Linked DNA regions of Homo sapiens: regions 1, 2, 3, 4 and 5 are each linked to region 6. Evidence: promoter capture Hi-C in 16 types of primary human blood cells and fetal thymus (Javierre and others, 2016). All regions are on one chromosome and are shown on one strand. Each heading gives the region's core, a stretch centred on a gene start or on the middle of the fragment in contact. The rest is flanking DNA. Distances are from core to core; before and after follow the strand shown. Region 1 overlaps SPO11 (SPO11 initiator of meiotic double strand breaks). Region 2 overlaps RBM38 (RNA binding motif protein 38). Region 3 holds the start of LOC105372688 (a long non-coding RNA gene). Region 4 overlaps RAE1 (ribonucleic acid export 1). Region 5 has its middle 25 kb from the start of RBM38-AS1. Region 6 holds the start of RTF2 (replication termination factor 2).

The links. The method cuts DNA at HindIII sites, captures the fragments that hold promoters and counts their contacts. A CHiCAGO score of 5 or more calls a contact.
Region 1: a contact is called between a fragment that was not itself captured here and the fragment with the promoter of RTF2 in region 6, in 2 of 17 cell types (naive CD8 T cells and naive CD4 T cells). The highest score is 5.8, in naive CD8 T cells.
Region 2: a contact is called between a fragment that was not itself captured here and the fragment with the promoter of RTF2 in region 6, in 2 of 17 cell types (neutrophils and naive CD8 T cells). The highest score is 5.8, in neutrophils.
Region 3: a contact is called between a fragment that was not itself captured here and the fragment with the promoter of RTF2 in region 6, in 1 of 17 cell types (neutrophils). The highest score is 5.9, in neutrophils.
Region 4: a contact is called between a fragment that was not itself captured here and the fragment with the promoter of RTF2 in region 6, in 5 of 17 cell types (naive CD8 T cells, M2 macrophages, total CD4 T cells and 2 more). The highest score is 8.7, in naive CD8 T cells.
Region 5: a fragment that was not itself captured here is called in contact with the fragment with the promoter of RTF2 in region 6 in 1 of 17 cell types (naive CD8 T cells); the score reaches 5.8 in naive CD8 T cells.

The regions. Positions count from the first base shown.
Region 1 is chr20:57,338,151-57,341,349 of GRCh38, reverse strand. It overlaps SPO11 (SPO11 initiator of meiotic double strand breaks), which reads right to left. Exons shown (of 13, transcript NM_012444.3): 9 at 2,975-3,074; 10 at 2,324-2,361; 11 at 1,172-1,248. Among named protein-coding and RNA genes, the nearest start is that of SPO11, 9.9 kb to the right of the region's middle. The HindIII fragment of the contact is 7,175 bases long and covers 1-3,199 here.
Region 2 is chr20:57,398,981-57,402,228 of GRCh38, reverse strand. The region is part of intron 3 of RBM38 (RNA binding motif protein 38); the gene reads right to left. Among named protein-coding and RNA genes, the nearest start is that of RBM38-AS1, 7.5 kb to the right of the region's middle. RefSeq lists enhancers at 1,318-1,417, 1,400-2,263, 3,238-3,248. The HindIII fragment of the contact is 5,250 bases long and covers 1-3,248 here.
Region 3 is chr20:57,458,008-57,461,284 of GRCh38, reverse strand. LOC105372688 (a long non-coding RNA gene) reads right to left here and starts at 1,025. Exons shown (of 3, transcript XR_936911.3): 1 at 585-1,025. RefSeq lists an enhancer at 1-172. The HindIII fragment of the contact is 5,537 bases long and covers 1-3,277 here.
Region 4 is chr20:57,377,882-57,381,309 of GRCh38, reverse strand. RAE1 (ribonucleic acid export 1) reads right to left here. Exons shown (of 12, transcript NM_003610.4): 12 at 2,108-3,297. The coding sequence ends at 3,211. LOC124904938 (a long non-coding RNA gene) reads left to right here. Exons shown (of 2, transcript XR_007067671.1): 1 at 1-3,428. Among named protein-coding and RNA genes, the nearest start is that of RBM38, 12 kb to the left of the region's middle. The HindIII fragment of the contact is 373 bases long and covers 1,483-1,855 here.
Region 5 is chr20:57,416,127-57,419,451 of GRCh38, reverse strand. No RefSeq gene overlaps it. Among named protein-coding and RNA genes, the nearest start is that of RBM38-AS1, 25 kb to the right of the region's middle. RefSeq lists an enhancer at 3,225-3,325. The HindIII fragment of the contact is 2,248 bases long and covers 140-2,387 here.
Region 6 is chr20:56,466,671-56,470,113 of GRCh38, reverse strand. RTF2 (replication termination factor 2) reads right to left here and starts at 1,487. Exons shown (of 9, transcript NM_016407.5): 1 at 1,348-1,487. The coding sequence starts at 1,416. The HindIII fragment of the contact is 9,363 bases long and covers 1-2,476 here.

The DNA.
Region 1 (3,199 bases), core at 307-2,806, 870 kb before region 6:
GGATCCTCTTTGACCCACCAGTTCTTCTGGGAATTCAGCCTAAGGGACTAACTAAGGATGTGCATAGAGATTTAGTTACAAGAGACTGCATCAAAGCACGACCTATCAGAATAGAGATTTGGAAACCACTTAAATGGCTATGAGGGAATGGCTGAATAAACACTAGCACATCTAGAGTTAAAACTCAGCAACAAAAGATGCTAAAATAAGAAATGTACTTTATTGACATGGAAAAGTGATCACATTATTTTGTTGTGTTTTAAAAAAAGCAGATTATAAAATAACAGAGTATGATCTCAGTTTTGTGAAAAAGTTATGGCTATGCACAGAAAAAAAATCTACAAAGGTAAGGCTGCTGATCTGTAGGTGATATTTAACTTGTTGCTTAATATTTTTTTCTATAATGAACATATATAATAAACTTGCCAAACTTGAAGTTCCCAAATTTTAATACTCTTAAAATGATATTTTTCTTTTGAAGTTAAAAATTTAAATCTATGACAAAAATTGATTCATATGGCAAATGATGTTGTCAATGGTTACAATTTAATTGGATTTACTATATTGTACTTTTTTTTTTTTGGAGACAGAGTCAAGCTCTGTCACCCAGGCTGGAGTGCAGTGGTGCGATCGTGGCTCACTGCAACTGCCGTCTCCCAGGTTCAAGCAATTCTTGGGCCTCAGCCTTCCCGGTAGCTGGGATTACAGGCATACACCACCACCACACCCAGCTAATGTTTGCATTTTTAGTAGAGACAGGGTTTTGTCACGTTGCCCTGGCTGGTCTCAAACTCCTGGCCTCAAGTGATCCGCCCACCTTGGCCTCCCAAAGTGCTGGGATTACAGGCGTCAGCCACCATGTGCCCGGCCTACAATGTATTGTACTTTTAAGTATAAAAAGTGTATAAAATGTCTTAACCATAAAAGTAAAACAGAAAGTTTTAGCTAGCTGAAAGTGTAACACATTAACCAAATTCATGTGTTAAATATTTTAGTAGTTGAAACAGAAACATTAATGAATTTAATTCATAATTACATAATCATAAGTCATCGTGGACAATATAAATAAAAAACATTAAGAGCTTTCCCTTGTAGTGACTTTTTAGGCTTATTGTTACATATGATAATGAACTGTCATTTTAAATATCCTAGTTCTGCTATACTATCTAACCTTTTAAGATCAGAAGGGAGAAGACCAAGCCATCTAATAGCTGGAACTGTGAGATGATGAGCTTCAAAAGACATAGACTAAAATAAAGAACAAAAGTATATTAGGTGAGGCTAAATTGTAGAAAACTAGCATTCTTGTTTTTCAGTCAAATTTTTCACTTATTAAGAAGGACAAGTACTAAAGCTGGCTTCACATGCCCAGAGCCCACAGAAGTAAGAAAACCATCAGGGGCTATGCTAAGCTGGGCTTTTAGTGAAGGTGTTAAAACTTCTCTGGGTTAAGTGCGGTGGCTCATGCTTGTAATCCCAGTACTTTGGGAGACCAAGGCGGGAGGATGGCTTGAGCTCAAAAGTCCAAGGTTGCAGTGAGCTGTCACTGCACCACCGCACTCCAGCCTGGATGACAGAGTGAGACCCTGTCTCAAAACAGCAACAAAACAACAACCACAACTTCTATATAGTGTTTCTGTATTAATTTTCTAAAGCAAACTATAAATGAAGCCCTCTGACCTACATTTCTTATTGTTCATGATTCCCCATCTTACACCCTGCTCCACCATCCTTTTCATCTGCTATAAATTTCACCATGCATCAGAATGCTTGGAGGATCCCACCCCTAGAGATTTTGGCTCAGTAGTTCTGGATGGGGACTGAGATTTGCATTTCTAAGAATCTTCCAGATGATGCTGATGCTCCTGGCTTAGGACCACACTGTGAGACCACTGGTATATGGTAATTGTAGACACTGGTGGTGACATTTATTGTTTCCATTTCTCCTTATGGTGGGAGAAAAGGGATTAGAAAAGTCAGAATTCAAGGCTCTATATAATATTTCGAGTATATTTGGTGATCAGACAGCGTTGTTGTCACCCCAGAGCCCCACAGTTCCTTCAGTATGCCAAGAGAGTGCAGGATAATAATGCTGCTTGCCCACAGCTAATCCCACTCTGTCATCTGTGTTTGCACTGGTCATACTGGGAGCTGGAGTCACAGCCACCGACACACAGATTGCTCCTAGAATAGGATACTAGGCCCTCAGGTACACTTTGGGCACTCTCAGCCTGCTTGGGGGTGATTAATAAATGCAGAAATCACCTCAATGAATATAAAATGTCTAAATAATAAAAAAGGAAAACTGCTTTTCTATACTTACCATAGATCCATACTTATAGATGCACATTATTTCTATGCCTGTTAAAAGAAAGTTAACTATAAAATTAGTCTCCTTACATATTACAGGTTAATTTGCACTCTCAAATTTTATCTATCTATAATTTTAATTTTGTGGACATCACCAGTGAAAAATTTATCATTCTCAGTTTAATATGACAAAGTAACGATAAATTGTGTCAAATAATTATAGACCAAATTTTAATGTAATCATTTTCTTTTAAAATGTTTCATAAGTGTCCCGAGAGTAGAAAACACAACTACAGGCTGGGCACGGTGGTTCCTGCCTGTAATCCCAGCACTTTGGGATGCCGAGGTGGGCAGATTACCTGAGGTCAGGAGTTCGAGACCAGCCTGGCCAACATGGTAAAACCCCGTCTCTACTAAAAATATAAAAAATTAGCCAGGCATGGTGGCATGTGCCTATAGTTCCAGCTACTCAGGAGGCTGAGGCAGGAGAATCACTTGAACCCAGGAGGTGGAGGTTGCAGTGAGCCAAGATCGCGCCATTGCACTCCTGGGTGACAGAGCAGGACTCAATCTCAAAAAGAAAAAAAAAAAAAGAGGAAGAAAACACAACAACAAATATGATTTAGTTATGACTATTGTTGTAAATAGTCCAGTGATAAATTACCATGTGGATCAGCATCTACAAGAGTGAAAACAGGAACATGAAATGTATCCCACAGTTTCTTGACTAAAAGTCTTGTGTTTAGATCAGGAACTCCCTTTCCCTAAAAGGAAGATGAAAATTAAGAATTTTAACTTCAGTAGAATAAAATGGTTACAATTATACTCTTATTAATAATTTAAAAGTTAGGCTGGACGCAGTGGTTCACGCCTGTAATCCCAGCACGTT
Region 2 (3,248 bases), core at 388-2,887, 930 kb before region 6:
CCACGCCTGGAATCCCAGCACTTAGGGAGGCCGAGGCGGGCGGATCATGAGGTCAGGAGATTGAGACCATCCTGGCCAACACGGTGAAACCCCATCTCTACTAAAAATACAAAAATAGCTGGGCGTGGTGGTGCGTGCCTGTAATCCCAGCTACTCAGGAGGCCGAGGCAGGAGAATGGCTTGAACCCGGGAGGCGGAGGCTGCAGTGAGCTGAGATCAAGATACTGCACTCCAGCCTGGAGACAGAGCGAGACTCCGTTTCAAAAAACAAACAAACGAAAACATCAACACCCCATCACCTCCAGAAGCAGAACCCTCCAGCTGCCTCCCACTGTACCCAGAAGAAAACCCAAACTGCTCCCTTGTGGCTTCCTGCGTTATTAGGCCTCAACCTACCTCTTCTAACTCATCTCCACTTGCACTGCGCCCTCCCTGGCCACACTCCCACTGCCCTGGGCTCCTTCTGTTCCCAGATTCGACTCCTTCCCACCACAGGACCTTCGCACCTATGCACTTGCTTCTTCCCACAGCTCAAAGCTCACCCCTCAGGGGTCCACCCAGGCGGCTCTGTTTCCTTATGATCGGAAGCCCCTTCATCATCTACCTTGCACAATGTCTTCCCCACAAGAGCAGGGTCTCAGCTGCTGCGTCCCAAGTGCCCCAGCACAGCAGGTGCCCAGTGCTGAGCATCTGAGGCAGGCCCCGGCTTTGCAGGTAGCTGGGAGGCAAAAGAGCCCCCCCGTGGAATGGCCTCTGCTTCCCAGGCCAAGAGTCCCTGCCCCAAGAAGGCAGAGAAAGCAGTTCAGCCTTGAGCAGCCAGGGCTGGGCAGGCTGGAGGGACAGGCAGGCACGGCTCCACCCAGCAAGTCACAGCTAGACAGGCACAGCCCGCCAGCCTCTGCTCCCCGACCAGGTGCCTGGCGGCCCCGGGTGACCTCATCACTGCCTCTGGGGAACCACACGCCCCAGGGGGCTGCTGTGAGGATCTATTGCTTCTGTGCACCCCAGAGACTTCAGCAGCATCGACGCCTCCTTGGGCCTGAGGAATGCTGGGAGGGACAGAGGCCCTCCCTCTCCTAGGACTTTCAGCCCCAGGTCAGGGGGCAGCAGCCAAGAACCCTTGGTGAGCAAAACAGACCAGCGGCCAGGCGCAGTCAGGTAGGAGCCCAAAGGTCGGGGGACCCAATGCTCATCAGGGCTGCTCCTGTTTGGCCAGGGCCCACCGGCCTCTTTGGGCACACGGCACTTGCTCCCTCCTCTAGAAGCCACTTTGGAATCGGCCCTCTGTACGGCCGCTGCTGGAGTCCCACGCGCTCCCCAGGGTTGCAGAGCCACAGCCCAGCTGTAACCTCAAAGGAGAGGGCAGGAGCCTCCTTCCCTTCCAGTTTCCTTCCAAGTTCCGGCCTCAGAACAACCGGGCGTCTGTGCCTCCTCATCCTCTGCAGAAAACTTCTATCCTCCCACCAAGACCCCAGAGAAGGGTCTTGCACCAATCAGAGGCGGATCTGTTTACCAGAGAATTAATCCCACCACGTGTGCAAAGTCCAGGCAGAGCCAAGGAAGAAACCACAGGAATGGGTGGGACAGACCCCCCACATGCCACCCAAGCCCCACTGCAACGCTGGACACTGGGCACAGGCACCTAGCTGGGGTCCGGGGTGTCTGCGGAAGGATGACTCAGGGGTTCTCTGCTTCCCTCTAGTGCCGGAGCCTGGGCAACACCAAACCCCCAAATCACGGAGCCACTGAAACGGGCCACCATTAGGGCTGGAAAGGCCAGGCCATGCCGGGAGGGTTGGGCATGCAGGAGGAGCTGGCTCTGCCACAGCCCAGGAGAGGACAGGGGGACCCCGAGCCTGGTCCAGACTGGAAATCTGAGGTGCCTGCCTCCCTTCCCGTTCACACGTGGCCCAGGCAGCATTTGCACCCCAACACACCCAGGGTCAGCACACAGTCAAGAGCACCCCAGCTGACTCTGTCCACAGAGACTCAGGGGTCCAAGGGCAGGAAGAGCCCCAAGCCCGGATCCTGGCCATGCCTGTCCAAGTCGCATGGACCATCACTCAGCCCCTCCGGCCTCTGTTTCCCCATCTGTAAACTAAGGATGCTGCAGAGTCCAACAGATTGCCCCCAAGACAGAGGGCTTGGGCCTCCGGCAGAGTCTGAGAACCCCGTGGTGGGCGGGAGAGAGAAGTACAGATGGTGCTGGGGACACATGCTGCCCACACTCAAAGCAGAACTCGCAGCGAAAAGAACTGACCACGGCCCAGGAGGACTCATTTTCTGAACATAAAGTCGCCTCTGAAAATAAAAACGAAAAAGGCAAATGAGCCCATTTCACTTTCCCTGCTCTCCAGGGGCCTTGCCCCACCTCGGCAGAGACGGACCGCAGCTCTTAGGGTTCTGACTCCCGCCTGGCTGGGTGTGGGAAGGTCCCCGAGGCGCCTGGCAGGCAGGAAGCCAGGCCATGGCCCTGCCTCCCGGGAATCCCCAGTGACTTGTGAGGGGGAGGGCCGGGAGGTCTAGGGACATTCAAGTTCTGTGGGGCAGCCAGCCACAGGACACAGGTCGAACGCCCTCTCTGTGGGGCAATGCCAGGCCCGGAACAGCATCTCCACCTGAACCGGCCCAAACTCCAACTCCTGACCTTCTCCCCAAAACTGTACTGCACAGCTGCCTCCACCCCAGTCAGGGCCAAGCCCATCTCCCATTTCAAAGGCCCAAAGCTCCAGAATCTTCTTGGACTCCTCTTTCTTTCCCAGGTTCTTTAAAATAGACACCCAGAATCTCACTGTATCTCACCAGGGCCGCTGGTGCAGGCAGCACCCTCGTCTCATGCCTGGATTACTGGGCATCCTCTAAGGGCCTCCAACCACCACAATACCCTCGGCAGTCCAGGCTCAACCCAGCAGCCAGAAGCAAAAACACTCTGAAAACAAAAATGCAGACTGACCCATCCCTCCTCCGCTCGGAGCCTGCGTGGTCCGGTGTCACTTGGAGGAATGTAGCAGTGCCTCCCTGGGTCATCAAAGTCCTCTAGGAGCTGAGGCTACCCTGTCGGGCCCTGAGCCTCCCCGGCTGCTCCCTTCCCCTCCCCAGCTCCTGTCGCCTTCTGAGGCATGCTGACCTCCTTTGTCTCTGTCCTCCTCTCAGCACCTCGCTGCAGAAAGCACTGTGATTAGGAGCTGGGACCGGGTCTCCCCTCACCCCCATGGCAGGCATCCCCAGCCTGGCACAAAGCAAGCAAA
Region 3 (3,277 bases), core at 291-2,790, 990 kb before region 6:
CAAGAGGTCAGAGTGACCCACCCCATTGTCAAGAAGGGCAGTGGGAGGAACTGTGGGAAAAGTCAAATTGTCACCAGGCAGCTACAGGAGATAAGCTAGTCAGTGGCCTGCGGCCAGCATGCTGTCCGCCGTTCCCCATGGTACTTCTCTGCATCCCGCATTCCCAGAAGAGAATCAGCTCCCAGGCAGGCCATGTCCACTCTGTCCTGGGCAGCAGCTGGGCACATTGTGCCTTCTACATGCCCATTAACCACGCTGCAGGATGGAACCCAGCACTGGAAGGACCTGCTGTTCCAGAGACATTCCCAGGACAGCCCTGGGACGCCTCTGGCCAATGGCGGCCAGGAGGACAGGCCCTGGCCCGCAGACTCAGGGATGTGCGCTGGGGAAGGCTCCTGCACGATTACACCTGGGGACCCACGGGACGCCTTCAGATGGGGCACATAGGGGAGGGGGAGGTGGCAGGTCCCCCCAGCACAAAGCAAAGGGACCCTGGTGACAGCAGGGAGGCAGTCAGGGGCTAGTGGTGGGGAGGCGGGTGGCAAGAGGAGCAAGGGAGCCTAGGGCAGGGGTTAACTCCTCACCTCACATCGGAGCCAGCCGAGGCAGCCGCAGATGAGGACCAGGCCCCCATCACAGGGTGCCCAGACTGCAGAGCGATTACAGGGGGCCGCACCCCCCATAAAGTACACCCCGGCCATGCAGAAGTTCTCCTAACAGTCACGGTGCCAGGCAACCACCCACCCGATGCTGCTCCACAGGCAGAACAGCCGCTCACCCACAGCAACGGCAGTGTCTGAACCCAGGTTCACGTCCGGCTCAGGTTCCTCTGTCTGAAATGACGGCTGTGGGCTCCTCCTGGCCAGGCCAGCAAGGTTGCGTGTGTCTCCTCTTACCTCAGCGCCAGGAGCGCAGGAGCCCAGGAGAAGTGCCCGGGGTAAAAAGGACACCCCAGTGAGGGCAGGAGGCATCACTTAACTGTTTTTCTAAGTCAAATGAAACTTGATTTCCCACAGGGAAGTGCCGGGCAGCCCCACAGGCCCTGAGCTCAGAGTGCCGCCTTGCTGTGAGGCTCTGCTGCCCCGGCCTGGAAGTCCTCCATTGTTCTGAACCAGAGGCTCCCCGTTTTCATTCTGCCCTGGGCCTTACAAATCACACAGCCAGTCCTGCCCCACTGCCTCCAGGTAATGTAAAGACTCAGGGTCTTGCCCCAGGTGGAACGAACATTCCAGGAGCTGGCTGGTCTTCAGTTCACACTGTCTACCTTTAAGTGCTCATTGTCAGAGGCTGCTGACCCCTAGACAGGGTGGATCTGCAGCCTCTGGCTGAGCTGAGGCTGGAGAACTTGGCAGCACCTGGAGTCCCTGAGACTGGGGGAGGCCAGTGCTGCTGGGCGACAGTGCCCTAGGGAAACGGTCTCCCCAGGCATAGACCCCCCTCACCTCCTCTCCCCTTCCCTTCCCAGTCTTGGGAAGTCTCCTTCTTCCCCTGAGACCGTTGCATTTCTGCTGCCCCTCCCTCTATTCACCCATCTCAGGGAGCGGCTACTAGTTCCCCCTCCCCTCTCCCCGACCCCCAACCCTCCACCCGCAGCCCCACTGGCTTCATAGTCCCCTCAGTCGCTTCTGGCCCCTGGATGGTGTGGGATGGGGCGGTGCTTACACCACTCCACTTTCTCGCCAGATGGGGAAGACAACTGTTGTTTCTGCCACCCCCACCCCCAGTATGCATTGCCACATTTTCTGGAAACAGCACTCAGGATTTTCTGAGAGGGCCCCCCCCCCACCACCACAGCTTGAATTCCTGTAGTCTGGGGAGGTAAAACCCCACTCTCAAAGCCCAAGGTAGACATGTGACTCAGTCCTGGCCAATCAGATTATTTCATCCCGCAGGACTCAGTGATTGGCTTAGGGATGGGAACAGGACTCACATCAGTCCAACAGGAGTTAATTCTGCGCCACTATTGGGAAGAAAGAATTTGACTTTCTATTGGAAGGGGAGGTGGGAGGAAGTAAGCCCTGGGCTGCCAGGGGCTGACTGAAAAAGGTGGGAGAGTAAGAGATGGAGAAAAATCAAGTCCTGATGACAGCATTTGAGCCCCTGGATCCATCTGTGCCTGAAGGCAGGAAGCGCCCAGACCATGTCAGTTACACACAAATCGTTTTTCTTAAACCCGTTGAGTCTGGTTTTGTGTCACTCAAGACAGAAAGAGCCCTTAGCAGTGTGCTATCTCCCTCTCTTGCAAAGGTTACAGCCACACAGGAGCTGAATCCACACTGGATTACCAAACACAGTGCCCAAGACTTGGAGAAATTCCCAAAGCTGGCTGAGGGAAGGCTTTGGAAAGGGGCCCATGCCTCTTGCTAACTTTTCTTTCTGAGGCACTGTGGCTGGGAATCCTTCCAGAGAGAAGCCTTGTCTTCCTTCACAGCACAGAAAGGCCCCCATCCCCTTGTGGGAGGCAGAATTCTAAGATGGCCCAGAATCCCAGCCCCTGCTGTAGACTCCCTGTATAACCCCCTTCCCTGAAATGTGGGCAGGACTGTAGATATGGTGGCGTATCATGCCATGAGAAAATTACTACTTAGTTGACTTGCAGTTCCTCAAAAGGGAGATGGTTCTGGGTGGGCCTGGCTTAAGCAGATGAGCTCTTAAAAGGAACTGAGCCTTTCTTGAAGTCAGAGATTGGACGTGTGAAAGGGCCCCAGGAGGGATCACGTGATAAGGACCTGTGAGTAGCCTCTAGAAACCGACAGCAGTCCCAGCCAACAGCTGGACAGACAACAGGGACCTCAGTCCTATGGCTGCAGGGAAATGAATCCTGCCATCAACCAGAGGGAGCTTGAAAGTGGATTTTCCCCAGTTGAGCCTCCAAATGAGAATGCAGCCCAGCCACCACCTTGACTGCAGCCTTGTCAGGCCCTGGGCAGTGGACCCAGCTAGAACGTGCCAGACTCATGACCCATTAAAACAGATAATGAATGAGTGTTGTTGAAGCCACTAAGTTTGTGATAATTTGTTACACATCATAGAAACCAATGTAACTCTCACCACCAGAACCTAGGAGAGCTTGTCGGCTGGGGTCAGAGGACAGAACGGTCCACTAAACATCTAAACGTAGGATAAACACTAAACACTAAGCATAGGATAATGAATGAAATGCATGGTGCAGTGGTGAGCTCTCGGCTCCTGCAGGCAGGCCTCCTGGGCTCCCATTCCAGTCTGACTGCTTGCTAGCCTCGGTTTCCTCATTTGCAAAATGGGATCTGAAAGAGCA
Region 4 (3,428 bases), core at 420-2,919, 910 kb before region 6:
AAGTGCTGGGATTACAGGCATGAGCCACCGCACCCAGCCCCCTGTTCTTAATTGCAATGTTATAAGGTTATTTCAAATATAATTAATATAATCATCCCTCCCATTTTGGGGAGACCTCAAGTGCAGTTATGGCTTAGTACTTGAGGTCACCGAAGCTAAGAACTCATCCTAAACCATACAAAAAGTGACAGGCACAGAGAAGAATCCCACCCCAGGATATGAAAATATCTCATACATACATAGATTCTGTGATTTTGTGTGGCTCCACTAAAAGAAACGCTCACTGCAACAACTACGTTCATTTCACAACCTACGAATGGGTCATGAGTGAATTCGGAAAAGGCTGGCTTAGGCACTCCCGAGTGTTCAAGAACATGTGTTTAGTTCATGTTTTAGAGTCTCTCCTCCAAAAGAGACGAAAATTTTGGTTGAATGAGAAAAACAAACATTTCCTACATGACTCAATAAAATTTCTTTGAGACAGGGTCTTGCTTTGTTGCCCAGGCTGGTCTGGAACTCCTGGCCTCAAGTGATCCTCCCGCCTTGGCCTCCCAAAGTGCTGAGACTCCAGGCGTGAGCCACCACGCCTGGCCCTTGCTGTTTACCTTCTCTTGGTGGTGATTTTCTGGTGAAAGTCAGCAAGCTCACTGCCAGCAGGCCAGGCACTTGCCGCATCCTTTGTTCTTCCTCTGCCAGAGGATCTCTGGTGTGAAGCTAACCCGAAAACGGGGTGAGGCAGGCGGGTTCAGCTGGCCCCTTTGACTGAGAGGGTTTTCACAGGCAGGCTCACATGCACACGTGCACACACGTGAGCACAGGCTCACAGACAGGTGTCTCACACAAACCCACCACAGCTCCATCCTGCTTCCAACCAAACATGACAGGAACCGAGTGCACCTTCCTGTGCCCACCCTAAATCCCTGCCACCTTGTTGCAGCAGCATCTTTACACAAAGTTCTTCCCATGAGGCCCTGTTCCCACAGTGAGGAACCAAGGAAGCGATGTTACAACAAAGACTGGGAGGAAAGCCAGGCAAAACCAAGCAGAAAATCAAGGGAAAGGTGAGTGTTCATGGTGGCATCCTGGTGGCAGGCAGATGGCAGGTGTATGTTCACTGCCAAAACCCTTTCCACTTTTGTGGATGTTTTAAAATTTTCATATGTTGGAAAAAATTAAGTGAAAGAACACAATTTGTCTTCTCCATGAGGTTTATATACTTTACTTTCAACGAAAGCAGCTCTTAACAGGGTGTGCAGTCAATATTTAATGGCAGGACGGCTTGACATTTAGTGAAACAAAGAGCCAAGATTACACTAGTATCTCTTTGAAGTAGAAGATGCCATCAAACTTATGAATACTTAATGAGCACCTACTGCATGCAACTTACAGGTGCCTGCAAAGATGCTGAAGTTTAAGATGAAGAGTTCCTCTAAGACTTCATATGCATTTTAGGAAACATGAACATAAATATTTGAAGAAGCTTAACGATCTCAGTGAATACTTCCTAGATCCTCATTAGCAAACATGTAGTGTGCTTTTATGCTTTAGGTCCTGGGCAGCAGAGAAATGAGCCTGGGCCTCATCTAGGGTTCACATCCTGGTGGCAGCAGAGCTCCCTCCCAGGTTCTGACAGCCCAGTCCAATCTTGGATTTATGCAAATGTTTTAAATTTGCCAATTACAAAAACTATCCCCTTGGGGAGGTGGCAAGGTCCCATCCTGGGAAAGCGCACTCTAAAAGGCCTGCAATTTAGACTCATTTTCCACCCTAGCCCGTCACTAGGGGTGGTAAAAACAATGAAACTCTGGCTAAGCTAAAGCTGAATATGAAAGTTGGCTGCTGAGATAATCAAGCTTCAATCTCCCCTCACAGCAGTCTTATGCTAGCTAGATCTTCCCCACGTTGATAAGACCACAGGCTTGATTCATAAAGTGAAGAGGAAAATGAGCTGGAAACCGTTAACCTGAAAATTCAGATATTTTTCTAGTGCACCTGCTTTTTTATCTCTAAAAAATAAGTTTTCGGGCTAAAAAAACAGGGCTGGAGAGTGGGTGGGTCTGAATTCATTGTGACCTACCAAAGAATTTAAACCACTGAGTGCAGGTGGTCTCTTCCAGTAGAAAATTTTATTTTCATTGTTTTTTATGAGTAGGCAAACACATCTTACAACACTATCGATACTAGAATTTTACACTCAGCAAGTCAGACTTCACACATTAGTCCAAACAGAAAGGCCTAAGAAGCATTTGAGATCACAGGTGAGAAATACAGTGACAGACCCAAAAGTCACACTTTTTCTCAGCCCAGCTGAATTTCATTTTGAATACTTACCAACCAGGAATTTTAAATTACACAAAATACAAAAGAACAGCCAAACAACCACTACTGAGGGTTCAGGGCAATTCCCATGCAGGGGACCGGGGTGGGTAAGAGTTCAGGGCAATTCCCATGCAGGGGGCTTGGGTTCTAACTTGAAAGTCACGCAAGTGTCACCCACTTGGGCCTTAGGAGGTTACCCACAAATGGCCTGTCACCCAGCACAAGTAACAGTCCCCATTTGAGTCACTCGGAAATCTGAGCAGCAAGGCCAGAAAGCACTGGGGATTTTGAAGATGGGAATGAGGGAAGCAAGGAAAAACACATTCAAACTCTGCCCACCAGGGCTCACAGAGGCTGCCGTTCCGCGCAGCAGAAGTGAGCGCAGCTGGGGACTCCCTTTCCCCTAAGGTTGCCGCATTTCCCAGAGGGTGTCTGAAATCTCAACTCAAAACCCCACGCTGATGCTGGGCAGGACGCATGTTCCTGAGGTTACGGGGTGGGCAAGGGGAGAAAAGGACAAAGGAAGCTCGGGAAGCAATCTGCAAAAGACTTTATTACAAAATACAGCACGGGGCTCACAGACGCTTTTCCAATATTCTCTAACACGTACACTGAAGCGCTGCAAAATCCCTGGCGGTGCCCGCAATCTAACGTCTACAATAACCTCAACCCCCTTAGTTACAGAAAAACTCTGCAACAGGCAGTGGAATGGAGAGACGGCAAGTCGCCGCGGACGCCTGGGCTCTCAGCTGCTGAACAATGACATCGTTTTCTCCAGGGGTTGAAATCCATGTCCATGGCTGACAACCCAACAAGGCTGGGACCCAAATTCGTACAGAGATGAGGCAGAGTGGAGAGAAACAACTCTGGCTGAGCCAGAGTCTCCAGCCACTACTTCTTATTCCTGGGCTTTAGCTCTTCGGCTGCATTACGCAGGAAAATGTAATTTTTTTTCTGGGGATTATAAAATTCATGTCCCTAAAGAGAGCAAAAAACACCAATGATCTTATTATTCAAAAGAAAGTTAGCATTTGTAGGTGCTTTTTCTAGGTGAAGTCCTGTGCTACAATACTGGAAACATATAATCTCTCAGAGAAATAAAACAACAA
Region 5 (3,325 bases), core at 14-2,513, 950 kb before region 6:
AGCAAACCAACACGGCACATGTATACATATGTAACAAACCTGCACATTGTGCACACGTACCCTAGAACTTAAAGTATAAAACAAACAAACAAACAAACAAACAAAAGAACCTTTGTGTCCAAGTTTTGGTGTGGAAGCTTTTATTTCTCTTGGGTTTTTTGAGGAGTGGACTCTCTGGGTCACATGGTAGCTCTCTCTGTTTAATCATTTGAAGAACCTGCCAGCTTGTTTTTTCTATTTTCCATTCCCAGCAGCAGTGTGTGTGGGGGTCCAGTTCCCCCACATCCTCGCCAGCACCTGAGTTTCTCTGACTTTTTCATCCCATCCTAGTGAATGCGAAGTGGTAGCTCATCTCTTTCCTTTGATTTGTGTTTAGTGTTATTCTTTTAAACCAGTTTACCTTATAATAAAATTCAGCCCCACATTGTACTCTGCGGAGGATTTTGGAGCCCTGTAAAGTAAGAGGAAGGGGCTCCCAACCCCCTACTCTAACCAGCTGTAACCCAAGGGGATTAACAAAAAACATATTTTACACTGACCCATCAAAACCCTGAAAGGAAAACAAACGTGAATTCTTCATCCAACTACAGACAGCAGAGTCTGTTTTCACTGCCGAAGAAACTAAACAGAAAAGTAAAGAAAAAATAGAAACATTTTAAAAAGAAAAGAAACTAAACACAGAGCTTCTTTTATTCTCAGGCCAGGCTTTGCCTTAGTATCAGTCAGAAGCGCTTAAAAAAATACTCATGCCAGGCGCTTCTCCCAAAGACTGGGTTCCGGGTGGGGCACAGGCAGCATTGCTTTTAGCAGCTCCTGCAGCTCAGTTCTCAGGTGCAGCCAGGGCTGGAAGCCCTGATAACAGGATTGCTCTGCGGCAGGGCTGCAAGGAGCCTTCTCAGGTCATGGTCACGAAGATGCGGCTGTGGCTTTGGGCGGGGTCTGAGAGTCCGGTCGAGGTTGGAGGCAGTGAGCAAGGGGATGCTATTGGTATTAACACCAGTCCAGCGAGATCCCAAGATCCTCAGAGCTGGGGGTGGGGAGGTGGGGAACCCATCGAGTCTCCCGAGCGATTAACCAGCTCAACACAAAGGGCCCGGAAGCAGAGAGGGCACTTTCTCAGGGCAGGGTTGATAGGACCGTAGCAGCAGCACGGATCCTAATAAAGGTGGGCCCACCTTCAACTTCTCCCTCAAACCTGGCCCTAAGTGCTTGTTCTACTTCGTGTTCTAGGAGGCACTACAAAGTATTATTATTTCCTTTCTATTAATGAGGAAACTGAGGATCAGAGAAGGTGAGTGACTTACCTAAGGTCACACAGCTTGTCAGGAAAGAAACTCAGATTCACATTCAGGTCTGATTCCAAACACTTGAATTATTAACCCTTGTGCTAGATCATCCCCTGAGGCAAAGCTAACTCTGCTGGAGTAGAAGGGCTGGCACATGCCACAACATGGATGAACTTTGAAAACCTGATGCAAAATAAAAGAAGCCAAACCCCCAAGATCACATATTGCATGGACATTCTTAAGAAATGTCCAGAATAGGCAAATCCATAGAATGTGGATTATTATTCTATTATTATTATTATCTAGTATTATTATTTCCTTTCTAATAATGAGGAAACTGAAGATCAGAGAAGGTGAGTGACTTACCTAAGGTCACACAGCTTGTCAGGAAAGAAACTCAGATTCACATTCAGGTCTGATTCCAAACACTTGAATGATTAACCCTTGTACCAGACCATCCCCTGAGGCAAAGCTAACTCTGCTGGAGTAGGGACCAAGGTTGAAGATATCTCTATCTTTCCATTCATCCCCCCATCCATCCCTTCCTTTATCCATCACTCCCTCCCTCCCTCCATTTCATCTTCCATCAATCCTCCCAATCACCCTCCCTCCCTCCATCCATTCCCCATCCATTTCTCCATTCATGTATCCATCAATCCTCCCATTCACACTCCTTCCCTCTATCCGTTTCTCCATTCATCTGTCCATCAATCCTCCCATTCACCCTCCCTCCCTCCATCCATTCCCCAACCATTTCTCCATGCATATATCCATCTATCCTCCCATTCACCCTCCATCCATACATCTCTATCCATTCCTCCACCCATTCTTTTTCCCTTTCTTCAGTCCCTCCCTCCCTCCATCTGTCACATAATTGCATAACTGTCCTCTAGAAAGACGTCAAGGGGGATAAAGCACGTGTGTACACGGTTCCTGCTTCCTCCTCTACTTGGCTCTCCTGTGACTCCTAACCGACAAGTTAAAATGCCTGCCAGGGTTCAATGAGAGGCACAGTAAAGATTGGTGGGGACTGGAGCAAACTGGAGAGCACGGGTGTCACTGCTGCTGTGAGGAACTCTGGGCCCAGCATTGTGAGAAGCTTCTGTTCATGGTGGCTTTTTTCCTTCCACCGTACTCTGTGGCCATCTCTCCGTGTCGGGAAATAGACTTCCACAGTATCATTCTTAGTGGCTCTGTGGCCTTTCTCCCTGTGGCCACACCAGAATACAGGTCATTGTCTCCTCCCATGGAGACCCCAGCTGCAGGTTAGGAGGGCAGCTTTGGCATCAGATCCCCCGGGGTTTGGAGCCCAGCTCTGCCAGCTACTCACTGTGTGACCCTGGGAAAACTCCCTGACTAGCCTGAGCCTCAGTGTCTGCATCTATAAAGTGGGTTGTTGTGTGGATTTGATGAGCCCATGCTGCTGAGTGGTGGGCACAGGGCCTGGCACAAGCCCAGTGCTGGATAAGTTCAGGCTTCTCTGCCCTGCCCACCCTGAGGATGAGGACTACAGCTCCCCACGCCCCCGGTTACCTTGCAGGCTTTTGCTAAACCTCAGCTTGAGATTCAGGACTGTGGCCTTCATGGGCCACACCTCCACCTAGGCCTGTGGGAGCCAAGCAGCCTTTGGTGACGTTCCGCTCTCCCGTGGTTCAGGAGGGCTTGTGCTTGCAAGCTGGGCAGAGGCTGTCCACACCTGCGCAGGGCGAGCCATCCCAGGGCACGCTGGCTGCTGGGGAGCACGGTCCTGCCACTGCGTGGGAGGGTAGGAACCCCAGGCTCAGCCCATTTCCCAGGAGCGAGGTTGTCAGGCCCAGGGAGGAGGAAGAAGAGGCAGCCCAGACTCATGCCTAGGACGCTCTGAGGCCAGGCCCTTATCCCAGAGACAGCTGCTTGGAAAGAAAAACAAATGAGAGAACAAGGATGGGGTTGGAGGTGATAGCTTAGATAGGGAGGTCCCAGAAGGCATCTCCAAGGCTGACATTTGAGTTAGGGTTCAGGGACAACAAGGAGAGAGTGACTCCCTCCATCTCTCTCTC
Region 6 (3,443 bases), core at 238-2,737:
ACATACTTATTAGGTGTCTATTATGTGGCTGACACATGGTAGGGGTTACAGAGGTAAGACACACAAGGTTCCTGTCTACGTGGGAAAGAGACAATAAACAACACAGTGGTAGGCACTGTTAAGAAGAGAAGAGAGAATATTGGAAGTGAGGCACATTTCAGTTACAGTGGACAGATGACATTTGAGTAAAAAACTGAATGAAGTAAAGAAACTCATCATGTGACAATCTCAGTGAAGAGTATTTCAGATTGATGAACTCACACTCCAGGTTGAAGAACAAGAGGCCTGTTTAGCTAGAACAGTATGAAAGAGGTGGAGAGGGGCAGAAGATGAGGTCAGAAACATAGGCAAGGTCTGCTCAAGGGTCTGACGAGATTTTATTCTTAATGTGATGGGAAGCCACTGGAATGCTTCAAATACAATAGTGACTTAAGGGGTTTACCTTTTAAACAAGCTCTCCAGCTCCTGAATCAGAATACATGAAGTCTCCACGTGTGCTTTACAAATATTTTTGTAAAGAAGTCTCTACTAGGTGCTTTACAAATATTTTATCATTAAAAAGTAATTACTTGTGCTAACTTTGAAATCCCAAATAAGTGGATGGGAATCCTGGCTTCACTACCTACCAGCTGTGTGATCTTAGTCACCTTAATATCCCTGGACTCAATGTCCCCGTCAGTAGCAAAGAAATTATTATAATTTCCTCGATTACTTGTGAGATCAGGGATTATTCACTCATTTGTTTATTCGAAATATTTAGTGTGCCAGGAACCATGCTAGTTGCAGAGAAAAAAAGGGTACAGCCTCTGCTATCAGGAACTTACCGTCTAGCGGGGAAGACTTGATACAAATCAACCACGTACAGCCGTGTGCAGGCTAAGACAGTTTATAAAAGGATGTGGTAAGGGAACAGTTTGGGAAGGCTTCTCTGAGCAAATGAAGTTAGTGTATACAAAACTCAGTATACACTAGGTATTTGTATTATTGCTACTAGTCGCAGGTAGGGTTCAAATCCTGGCTCTGCCATTTACTAGCTTTGCAAATTTCTCCTTTTGAGCCTCAACTTCCATGTCTGAAAATGAGGACAACAGTATGTAGCTATAGGGCTATTGTGATAATTACATGAGATACCCCCTGTTAAGATTACTGTCCAGTGAATGGCAATAGTCAGCACCCATTGAATGTCCACTCTTAATACTGTTGTTAATTTTGAGTCCTCTGAATGGAATAAAAGACCGCAGCCAGGTCTGGAACTCCGCTGGCTCCCCCTTCTTACTTCCTCTCGTTTTCTGGGGTCGTCAAATTCCCACCACCCCCGGTCGCCAAGAGCCGGCCCACATCACTGACCTTCTCAACCTTCTTCGGCCCCTTCACCAGTTCATGCCTCTTGGGGATTGTTCCCCCGTCGCAACCCATCGCAGGACGGGAGTCAGAGCCAGCAGCAAACCCCCAAAGCTGTCACTTCCGGGATTTCCGGCGAAATCCGCAGCCACTTCCGGCGCACCGCCGTGACGCAGCACGCTGGTCGTGGCGTAGCGGGGCGGGGCGGGGCGGCACGCTAGGCGCGGCGTAGCGGGGCAGGGCGAGGCCGTTACCAAGTGCCGGTTGTCATGGAGAGCGTCGCTTGGAGGCTGGGCGTGGGCGGGTTTCCTCGTTCCCGTGAGACCCTGGGTTTCTGCTGCACAATCGGAATCACTCGCCCACGCTCCGGGAGGGCAGCGAGGGCGTGGGCGGCCCGTGCGCATCCACCGCTCTTTGACCCTATCCCACGCCAGCTTGTGTGGCTGCGGAGCGGGCACATCCCTGGACTGAGAGCGCCTTGAGGAAAAGGGCCGCCCTCCTGTTTCTGCGATTAAGGATGCCTATGAACGGAATCTGCTGTATCAATGGACATTTTTGTGTTTAAAAGGAGAACGCATCTTTCTTGAGCGCCAACTGTGACTCAAGCACTCACAACAAATCTTGTGAAGTGATGTTACAACAGATTCTAGGAAGTAAGACCCTCCCTTAAGGCCTGGAACTTTCTGGTGTTGCCATGCATATTGTAGATGGCATGTGTGTGAAATTTTGCATACAGTTTGTGCGTGTGTGTATTTCATTCACAGTTTCCTGAAGCCCAGGCTAAAAAAATTTTATTAACAATCAAGTATCATTAATAGACGATATAATAGTTCTTATAAAATATACACTGATGTTGCCATGCCCGTTCCAAGAGTCAGGCTGTATTTTATCTATAAGAACACAAATCCCTTGCTAAAAATTCATGATTGTCTGTCTGCTCTTAGGCGATTGTCTATCTCTCTGTTTGTTCCTTTAATTATTATAAATATTATGGGAAAGTGCCTATAATCCCAGCACTTTGGGAGGCCGAGACGGGAGGAGCACCTGAGCCCAGGAGTTCCAGGTCAGCCTGGACAACATGGTGAGACACCATCTTGAAAGAAAAAGAAAAATTAGCCAGGCGTTGTGGTAAGCTTTTGTAGTCCTAGCGGCTCCGGAGGCTGAGGGGGTAGGAAGGATTGCCTGAGCCCAGGAATTCAAGGTTGCAGTGAGCTTATGATTATGCCACTGCACTCCAGCCTAGGCAACAGAGCAAGACTCTGTCATTAATATGTATGTATGTATGTATGTATGTATTTGTACATATATATGATGGGAAAATTTCTCCATTGCCAAGAAGGCAGATCTTTATGATTGGATATTACCCTATTGACCTACGTGAAACATAAAAACGCTGAAAATATTTTTTACTTGGGAAGAGTTGCCCAGAAAATACGTGGATGTGGAAACTTCAAGGGCTATATGTAAGCTTGGGGTACTTGTTACTGTGATTAATGAGAATTTTAAAAAATAATCCCTTTAATTAGTTGGTCTCTGATTGATTTATGATTTATTTCTATGCTAACCACAATAACTGTAAGCTCTATGAGGGTAGGGACTTCATTTTGTTTTGTTTTGTTTTAGACAGAGTCTCGATCTGTTGCCCAGACTGGAGTGCAGTGATGTGATCTCGGCTCACTGCAACCTCAACCTCCCAGGATCAAAGCGATTCTCCTGCTTCAGCCTCCCCAGTCGCTGAGATTACAGGCGCCCGCCACCATGCTGGGCTAATTTTTGTATTTTTAGTAGAGACGGGGCTTCACCGTGATGGCCAGGCTGGTCTCAAACTCCTGATCTCAGGTGATCCACCTGCCTCGGCCTCCCAAAGTGCTGGGATTACAGCCGTGAGCCACCAAGCCCGGCCAGGACTTTTATTCCACATTGTATCATCAGTGCCTAGAAGAGTCTTTGGCACACTCAATATATGAGTACATTTCCTCAGTAAACCAAAAGAAAGTACAGATTCATTGAGAAAGGGGTGAAAAGCCTAGTTTTGGCAGATACTAAAACTGGTTAGTACTATTAGAATTCCATTTACTGGTGAGGAAACAGAAGCGTGGAAA